Linked DNA regions of Homo sapiens: all the other regions are linked to region 1. The links are contacts of gene promoters, found by promoter capture Hi-C in blood cells and fetal thymus (Javierre and others, 2016). All regions are on one chromosome and are shown on one strand. The core of a region is centred on a gene start or on the middle of the fragment in contact, and the rest is flanking DNA. Distances in the headings are between cores, read along the strand shown.

The links. The method cuts DNA at HindIII sites, captures the fragments that hold promoters and counts their contacts. A CHiCAGO score of 5 or more calls a contact.
Region 2: a contact is called between a fragment that was not itself captured here and the fragment with the promoter of COG2 in region 1, in 3 of 17 cell types (total CD8 T cells, naive CD4 T cells and total CD4 T cells). The highest score is 7.5, in total CD8 T cells.
Region 3: the fragment with the promoter of RHOU here is called in contact with the fragment with the promoter of COG2 in region 1 in 3 of 17 cell types (monocytes, neutrophils and fetal thymus); the score reaches 8.4 in monocytes.

Annotation. Positions count from the first base shown.
Region 1 is chr1:230,641,119-230,644,239 of GRCh38, forward strand. COG2 (component of oligomeric golgi complex 2) reads left to right here and starts at 1,363. Exons shown (of 18, transcript NM_007357.3): 1 at 1,363-1,560. The coding sequence starts at 1,489. RefSeq lists silencers at 1,157-1,296, 2,910-3,029 and an enhancer at 1,387-1,606. The HindIII fragment of the contact is 12,366 bases long and covers 1-1,888 here.
Region 2 is chr1:229,619,103-229,622,211 of GRCh38, forward strand. The region is part of intron 1 of TAF5L (TATA-box binding protein associated factor 5 like); the gene reads right to left. Among named protein-coding and RNA genes, the nearest start is that of TAF5L, 5.5 kb to the right of the region's middle. The HindIII fragment of the contact is 3,259 bases long and covers 124-3,109 here.
Region 3 is chr1:228,734,116-228,737,228 of GRCh38, forward strand. It overlaps RHOU (ras homolog family member U), which reads left to right and starts at 1,364. Exons shown (of 3, transcript NM_021205.6): 1 at 1,364-1,889. The coding sequence starts at 1,628. The HindIII fragment of the contact is 4,915 bases long and covers 178-3,113 here.

The DNA.
Region 1 (3,121 bases), core at 113-2,612:
TTTCATTTCCTCCAGCAAAACAAACATAACAGGGACTTAGGATGTACTTTTCCCAATCGCTCCTCTGGCAGAATATTTTGATCCTCCAGCTAGCTTCCGGCTCTTATCCTGTTCATCTGTTCTGTAGATACTGGCAGGAAATAGGCTCTTCAACAGGGCCTGCTAGGTCCAGTGCTAGGGAGTAGAGCGTTTTGGATTCTACGCCTACATTTTTTTTTAAGTGACCAGTTTTCTAGTTGAGATACTTGAAATACAAAGTCTCATGGTGAGGTCTTACCCTCTGCTGTCCCATTCCTTTTTACAGGCCATCATGGCGTTAATCTTATCTCCAAGGAGAAAAATTGGGAAGAGAGGCCTAGATTCCTCAACAGAAGCGGGAAGGAAAGGTTTGCAGAATGAAGAGTGTGAAGTGAGGTTTGTGGTTTGAATCATCCGAATGTCAAGGAGAAAAGAAGAAAAATGAATCATCATCATTTGACCACGGTATTTACAGCTAGCGGAAGGGACAAGAGGAGAAAAAAGCAAGGGAGGAGATAAAGGAAGAACGTCTCAGAATAAAATTGGGGTGGGTGGGGGGAGGAGGAGGAAGACAGTCTAAGAAATTGGTTTGGTTGCACCAGTACTGGCCACAACACAAAAATTTGTCCATTCCTGGTTGAAATTAAAAATAAATGTGCATGCACATGTATTTGTCTGCTGTGTTTAATCAGATAGCGAGGCACTCCTTTAAGCACCTTGAAGACCCAAAGTTGCGCTCAGAGGCTGCCCACCTGGAACGGAGACCGAGGTTGAGCAGGGAGCTACTCAGAGGACCCAAAGCCGCCTAGCTGACCACCTTCTTCCCTATGAGTTCCCAGTAACGGAGCCCAGTGGAGGAGACGCTACACTTCTCTGTGGGGACAGAGGCTAAGGGCGGGGGTCTCCATAGAGGCGTTAGCGCCCACCAGCGGCAGTGACCGCGCACAGGGAGGTGAAGAATGCGACCACGGTGATACGTCCAACCTGGAAAACGGGCCTGAGAACCAAAGGGCCAACTTCTGGCCATGCATAACGAAGCAGAGCAGTCTCAGGGTAGAAGGCACTGGAAAAGCGTTGTAGGACAATTTTTCCCAGTAGAAACGGTGGGGGTGGGAGGGAGACCCGCTCACCCCTTTTGACCCACCCCTGCAGCTCAGCCACGCCTCCTAGGGAGGTGGGCAGCCTTGCAGGAGCCCGCGCGAGGCTGCAGTACCGCCCTCCGCCACATGAGGGCAGCACGGCCTACCCGTGCAGCAGCGGCGGCCCCCGCGCCCCTCTTGGCCAGAGCCAGGCGCAGGCCGGCTTGCGGTGCCGTCGTTCATTGGCCGCGGCGCGGGCGCTGCCATGTTGGCGGAAGCGGACCCCCCTGTGCCGTGGAAACTGGCGGTGGCCGCGGCCGCCGAGTCGGTCTGCGCAGCCTCCTGCGTTTTCTCGCTTGGATCTTGGCACTGAGAGGCGGTGGCCGGCGGGATGGAGAAAAGTAGGATGAACCTGCCCAAGGGGCCGGACACGCTCTGCTTCGACAAGGACGAGTTCATGAAGGTGCGCGCGGCGTCCGCTCCCCGGAGCCGGGCCATGAGGGTGCCTCTGCCCTGTGCCCTCTGTGGCGGTCTCTTCGGTCGGCTGCTCCTGCCTGCGCACGCTCAGTGTCAGGTCCTCCGCCGAGACCTCGCTGCACTTCGCAATGAGTCTTTTGGCGTCAGGTTTGGCGGGTGCAGCCTGGAGAAAGCACTTCTGTAAAATCGTGCGTGTTACATGGAAAGGCCTGAAAGTTCTGGGCAAGTGGTTTTGAGCTGCATGTCAAAGCCACTGTTACCCGTTCCTGTTACCATGCAGTGCAGTCAGATTGCCAGTCCCCTTGTCGGAAAGAAGCTTGTGGACCGGGGCCTTGGAGCTCATTAAGTGTGTGTTGAATAAATCTCCAAGCCCACGTACTTTCCTAGGGACTCGGGTCGGAAAGAAAAAGAACTTAATCTGAAGTTTTGCTTAACATTCAGCTAAAGCTTCCAGAATGGGATATTTAGAAGCTTAGAACATTCTTACCGACTATTGCAGTACGACAAAGCAAACCATTACTCTTTAAAGAAGTTGCTCTACTTTTTACGTGATGCATTTGAAGAAGTTGGTAGTTGTAGGTCATAAACTTAGAGAAAAGAAATATAAACTGAAAACACTTCACTGATGATAAAGTTCATCAGGCACAGCCTTGAAAATGGCCAGGCTTTGAGTGAGAGCTGGGAGGAGCTTTGCTCCTACTTGGTGTATCCCTCTGGGTCTGCACTTAAGCCATTCAAAAAATGTTTCTATTTAATTTCCTGAGGACTAGGATTTTTGACACCTTTTAGTAGCTGCTTTCAGTGTTAAAAAGCGAAAAGTTTTAGCTGGTTAGTAGACATCTACAATTTTGAGCAAGTGAGTTGAAATCTTACTCTGCCTTTCTTGGTGACATAATGTTTTCTAGATTAATTAGCCTATCTCTTTTTGATAATATTTGCATTCAGATTACATCTCCAAAGCTGTTTTTTTTTAAAGTAGATCTGTATCTTCTCCAGTGTGACCATATCATTTTTCGTATGTAGGACTTATCTATACCCAGGAATAATGTACCTTATTCTTGTAAGTGATATTCCTATTAGACCACTGTACTAAAAGGTGTAACTTCATTAGGATGTCTCAAAGAATGTACAGAATCAACTCATTGATCCAGAAACCCTTCGTTTTGCCTACTGGCTAAGAGCTACCCTGAAATGAGGGTAGAAAGAAACAGCTAAGGGTACATGCTGGGGAGAGGTGCCCTGGAAGAGGAAAGGCCATACACGGAGATCAGGGGCCTTGTTGACGTCAAGAATCTCAGAGTACAGAATAATCTCAGTTTGTCCATCTCTTGACTTCTTAAGGCTCAACACCAGCATCTTCTCTGACTCACTAGCCCCACCACCTTTCCCACTCTGAGTTGACAGAATGCCTTTGGTAAATGCAGCTTCAGGAAGTGAAATCACAGAAATACAAGTTCTAAAATAGAACTTAGAGTGCAAACTGGGGTGGTGGCTGGAATGCCAGCAATTGCATATTTCGTGGCTCTGTGAATATGCGGTACATTTTG
Region 2 (3,109 bases), core at 503-3,002, 1.0 Mb before region 1:
TAACTCAAGTTATTAGTTCTCTTCACTCACAGCAACTAAATGGTTGTAACATCAAAAGATCAGTCTAAGTAGGACCTAAAGCCCTAGCTTTGCATTAATCATCATGATAAAGTGTATTCAATAAGCTTTGTGAAAATATAAATCACAACTGAAAAATAAATGAGCCATACTACTTTCAGTTTCAGTCATACCTCATATAATTTAAAAATTATGATAGCCTTTCATATTCAATCTTTGCTCAGACTGACATAAATACACTTGAACTAGAAGCTGTGTTTTTTCCCATGGTGTCCTAAGAAATAAAATGGCACATGGATAAGGCCGTAGCTGGGCTCAGGACGCAGTGAAGAATGTGGCGTTTTGGTGGGGATGGCAGCAGTGGTAGAAAGTAGGTGGAAATCACGAAATCCAGCAAACAGATGTCATGAGAAGTAGATTTTCTCCAACATCAGCTGGGACCTCCATGATGTTCCAGAAGTCTTGTTTCATCAACTACTTACCCTACAGCCTTCCACCTACGCTATTCTAAACCTTCACCAGTCTCCTCACCCAGCCAGCTGACCCTGCTTCTGACCTCAGTGGGCTACTGAGACTTGGGATTCCTTAACTTTTTGATCTAACCAGTCACTTTCCAGCACCACCCTTCACGATCTCTCAGCTGGATGTGATGCTGCTGAACTCACCTCCTACTTGAAACTCTCTTGGTCCCTCCCACTGCAAGCCTCTCTTGTGGCTCTGCCCTCCCATTACTGTCTGCCACTGCTTCTTCACATTCCCGGCTTCACCACACCACCATGCAAGACTTACAGTCAGACCACCTTCCTCAACTCAGTCAATTAACAGACATTTCCACCTGCAATACCTCTTCCTTCTCCCGGTTTTCTTAGCCGGCTTAATGGTGCCACTATCCACCATTAAAGCAAAAACAAAACAAAAGAAAACAAAACAACCAAAAAGCCAGTCATGATAAAATTCTGTTCTCTCTCTCCCTTACTTCAAAGAGGCCACCAACTCCTATTCTAAATGGGAATTCTCTCTCAACTTAAAAAAAAAAAATTGCGGCTAGTGCAACTCAACCATTTCTGCTACCCCATCTTGACTGTTTGCTATTTGACAGCACAAATTGCTTCTCGCTCTCTTTAGAGAAGTGGTCTGGCTATATTGCCCAGGCTGGTCTCCATCCTCTGGGCTCATGATCCTCCCAGCTCAGCCTCCCAGGTAGCTAGGATTACAGGTGTATGCCACTATGCCCGACTCTACAAATCACTTCTCAACTGGACTATTCCAATATTCTTCCACCTTTAGGCCCTCCTCATATGGCCCTTTGAAAAGCAGCCAAAGTACATGACAAATCTAATGATGTTACAACCAAGCCTAAATCACCCCAACCCTCATGCAGGTTGTCCCCTCTTGCCATCACTCTTCCTCAGTTCCCCTAAACAGATGGAGAGTTCCCTGAGGACAGGCCTTATCTTTGAAACTCATCATAAAAATAACGTGAGTGCTATCTAGCTTCTTGGAATTCTTGAGAGTTTATTTTAAGCTCGTGATCTTTTTGAATTTCTACTTTAATACTGTTTTACAGCACAGAAAAACTGCTTTTCTATACAAAATCTTATTAACATGGAAGAGTGTGGCACAATCTACAGAATGGCTCTTTACATTACTTACTATGCTTGACTACATAAAGAAAACTTTCACAAATGCTCTATTTGCAAACACCACTGCAGACAGAAATAGGATGTCCTGTTCTCAAAATAAGGGATAAGACGTTTTCCCATGCTTATCACTGTTCCTGAAACTGAATTCAAATGCAGTACATGAGGATTTGAAGACGCTTCATTAAAACATTTATGTGTGTGTGTGTGTGTGTGTGTGTGTCTCAAAGTGGATGGAATGATCTTCAATTTTTCATTCCAGAGCAGTACTGTCCAAGAGGACTTTTGGCAAACGACGGAGGTGTTGTAAGTCTGCACTGTTCACAACAGTAGTCACTGGCCACACAGGGCAATTGGGCAATGAAAATATGACTAGTGCAACTAAGGAACTGAATTGTTTTAACTAATTTTAATTTAAGTAGTCATAAGTGGCCAATGATTACTGTATTGGACAACAGAGTTCTACAGAATGACATTACCTGGTGAAACTAATGCATCAGCATCTTGGCTTAAAAAAGTTAATTCACAAAGTTTTGCATAACACTTCTGCTTACTAATGACAAAGTCTCCAAAAGTTAGTATTTTGTTTTAAAAACACAGCTACCTTTTATTATTGCCAAACATTGTGAAGTTATTAACATACCCATCCACCTTGATACACCTTACTGGGAGGATATCTTCTTTGACTACTAAACAATTATAAATGGAAGTATTTTATAGTGTTTTCTAAACACTGACAATATACAACACTCTTCAAATCTTCTGTAAATTAAAAAATAGGAAGGAAAAAGACAATTTGCTTCAGTGGAGAAACAGCAGCTAATTTCTTTCTGTAAAATGTCCAACTAAAAGGTAAGCCCAAACCTATGACTACCTTACCATACCAATAAGAAAATTAAAAAGAAAACATTTTAGTCAACTTTAATTTAAAAAAAGAGAAACTCTGAGGGTTACAGATGAAAATCAAATGTCTAACTATAATCTCTATTAATTTACACATATCTAAAATATATAAGGCAATATATTAATTCACTAAAGAAATTCACTCCAACTGTTCATGAATATCTTAAACACCAGTGTCTGTGATGAATTAAGCCACTATGAATCATCAAATTCCATTTCCAGAGCACTTTACCTTTCCCATCTACTAAATCAGTTACAATAAAGCACGTCTTAAATCCATATACTCCTGCTGGAAATCTCAACCCAAGCCATCAATGCCTGTTCGGGTGAGCAGAACTTCTTTTCATTCATCATCATCTATCTATCTATCTATCTATCTATCTATCTATCTATCTATCTATCTATACAGATAGATATATATAGATATACAGATATGTGTGTGTATATATATTATACATACATTATGTTTTGCATTTAACACTTGCACTTTGTGATACCCCCCACCCCCATCAGGAAGAATGACTTAATGACTGAATCTTTCCTATTTT
Region 3 (3,113 bases), core at 114-2,613, 1.9 Mb before region 1:
CTTCAAAGTCACTCAATATGAGGGTAAGTTACAGTTTAAAAAGACAGTGAACATAACTGGTGGTGATTAAAATACTTTTTTTTTTTTCAAAATTTACAGAAACATATTACCACGTGTACACATTGCTAGGTCTTCCAATGTGAAAGTGTCCTTTGCAAGTCAGGGGTCCTGGATTCAAGCTTCTAACTTCTTGATAAATCCATCTCTGCATTCTGACCATGGCCATACGTTCAAGATTACGTTTATCATACTGACTTATTTTTGCCTCCAGGATTTTGGTTAGAAGCTCAGGCTCTGGGGCTAGACTATTTGGGTTTGGATCCTGGCATTGCCACTTACTAGCTTGTGGAATCCCAAAACGTTACTTAATATCTCTGTGCCTCAGGTGTTCTCATCTGTAAGTAATGTTAAGATTAAAAGAATTAGTTCTTGAAGAGTGCTTACAACAGTATCTGACACATTATGAAAGTTCAGTATTTGTTATTGTTATTTTTACTACCACTAGTATCAATGTGTATTAATAATATGTGGCCCTTCTCACACCACGCTGTACACCCCCAGGACTCTTGGTATTCTGACTTGGCTAAGAGGCGTCCTTTTTCTGAATAGACTGTTGACCACATGTAGAAGGAAGGCAGAGAGAGAAATGAATCAAAGGGAAACGGAATATTTTTTCAGACATATTAATGTCTCCGAATTACCTTTAAGTAAATGAAGGAATTGGGGGTATAAAAAAATTTCTGGAGCATACATGTATAAAGGTTCACGGCATGCCGAAAGACAAAGTCAAAGGAGCATTCACAATGGAGCTGGCATCCTTTTGCTTCAAAATGAGAAAAAATCACACGATCAGCTGCAGTTAGACTTAAGGAAAAAAGCTGTCTGTTAATTCAATCTCATTCGCAGGACAGGCCTCCAGGACACTTCATTTTTCCCCCTGGGTGGAGCCGTGGCCAGCCGGGGGCTCCACGGAGTGAATAGGAGGCGGCTCAGGCTTCCTGGCTCGCGTGGGCGCCAGAAAGCGGAACCTCCCGGGCCAGTCGCGCGGTGGTCACCCTCTTGGGAGCTGGGGAGGAGGCTGCGGAGGCTGGCCCGGCTCCTTCGGGCGTCGCTTCCCGGACCGGGTGCGCGGGGTCCCCCGGAACGTGTGTTCCAGGTCCTCCCGCGCCAGTGTTCGCAGTCCCCGCCTGGTCGCGGCGGCGCCTCGGGCGCGGGTGCAGGCGCGCGGCGCGCAGGCGGGGGGCGCTGTGGTCTTGGCGCGGGGACCGAGCCGCTCGGCCAGACCCGCCTCTTTTCCCTCCCCGCCAGCCCGCCCGCCTGCCCGCCCCCCACGCGTCGTGTCGCCGGGAAGCCGGGCGGAGACAGAGCGCTTGGGATCCACGGCGCTCGGACCGCTGTCCTCCAACAGCGCAGGGCAGAGCGGCTGGCGCCGCCGGAGCGCGGAGCCACGACCCTCCCTGGCCGCCTTTGTCTACTGGCCGTGCGGCCCGGAACCGCCACTCTCCAGGGCCGGGGACGCGCCCGCAGCTGTCGGTGACAGCTCCTCCCTACCGCAACCCTCCGGGGCGGAGGGGCGGTCGGGCCGGGCCCTGCTAGCCCGCGACCGCAAGCCCGCGCTCGCGGATCGATGCCCCCGCAGCAGGGGGACCCCGCGTTCCCCGACCGCTGCGAGGCGCCTCCGGTGCCGCCGCGTCGGGAGCGCGGTGGACGCGGGGGACGCGGGCCTGGGGAGCCGGGGGGCCGGGGGCGTGCGGGGGGTGCCGAGGGGCGCGGCGTCAAGTGCGTGCTGGTCGGCGACGGCGCGGTGGGCAAGACGAGCCTGGTGGTGAGCTACACCACCAACGGCTACCCCACCGAGTACATCCCTACTGCCTTCGACAACTTCTCCGGTGAGCTGGCCGGGGGGCCGGGGCCGGGGGCGCGTGGCCGCGGTCCACCCAGGGGAAGGAAGGTGGCGCGAGGGTCGCGAGGTTCCCAAGGGGGCTGCAGGGCCCCGGGCGCGGCTCCAGCTGGGAAGCCGGACAAATGAGGAGTGCAGGACGTTTCCTGAGTCTCAGGGACCGGGCAAGCGCGGAGCTAACACGAAAGGACCACGGCGGAGTGGGCTTGGAGAGAGGAGGGCGGAGCGGCAGTCAGAGCCTTGCCAAAAAAAAAAAAAAAAAAAATCTCACAATTTAAGCAACAGATAAGTAGGAGTGAAACAGGTTGAGTTCAGGGTGCCCGGTCAGTTTGTTGCATAGAGCAAAGTTTCCTGAGGGCGACGTCGCTGGCGCCGCTGCAGAGTTTCAATCAGAAGGTGACGCGCAGGTGCCTTTACCTGAGCGTCGCTCCTTTGCTTTTAGGCGGCTCAGCTCACAAGGGGCGTCTCCGCTTTAAAGAGCCGCGGAGACGCCGGGAAAACACTTGATTTAGTGAAAAAGCGCGAGCGGCCCTCGTGAAGGCTTAGGTTTGGATGAAACCTGAAGAGTAAACACCATTTCTTTCTTCTGAGCCCCACCACCTTCCCTGCCCACATGGGCTCGGATTCTGATTGTTGGTATCTTTTCAGGATCCCTTTAAGCTACTTAAAGCTCCTATGTACCGGGTGCGATGCCATTTCCCTTGGTAGATACAAAGAGAAAGGAATTCTCTATCTTGCTATTCAGGTCTTTTTGAAATTTAAGAAAAAGTTAAAATTCACAGAAACTAGTATGAAACACTTAACTGTCTTGCTTCTTTAAAAAAAAATTGCTTCTCTGACCTTCCTTTCATCCCAAAGGTACCTTAGAGAAATGGGTGCTGTACTGGTGGGTTCCCACCGCAGGGTATTGTTTCTTCCCCTCCCCCCACCCCACCCCTGCAGCTGACTAGTATAAATATTTAGAAACAATTAGAAAGTTGTGTAGAAAGAGACAAAACTGACTGCTTAATTAAAATAGAAACCTCCACAACATGTCCTGCTGCAGGCCTCTCCACACTCCCCGAGTCCCCGGATCCCAGTGGAAAGGGGGCCATGGCTTTCTTTTTTCTTTTTTAATCCTCCTTTTGACCTGACATAGAGATAAGGAGTGCCCTCATTTCTTAAACAGGACAATGCGGGCAGCCTGTGTTTGCACATGTTCTCAAAACACACT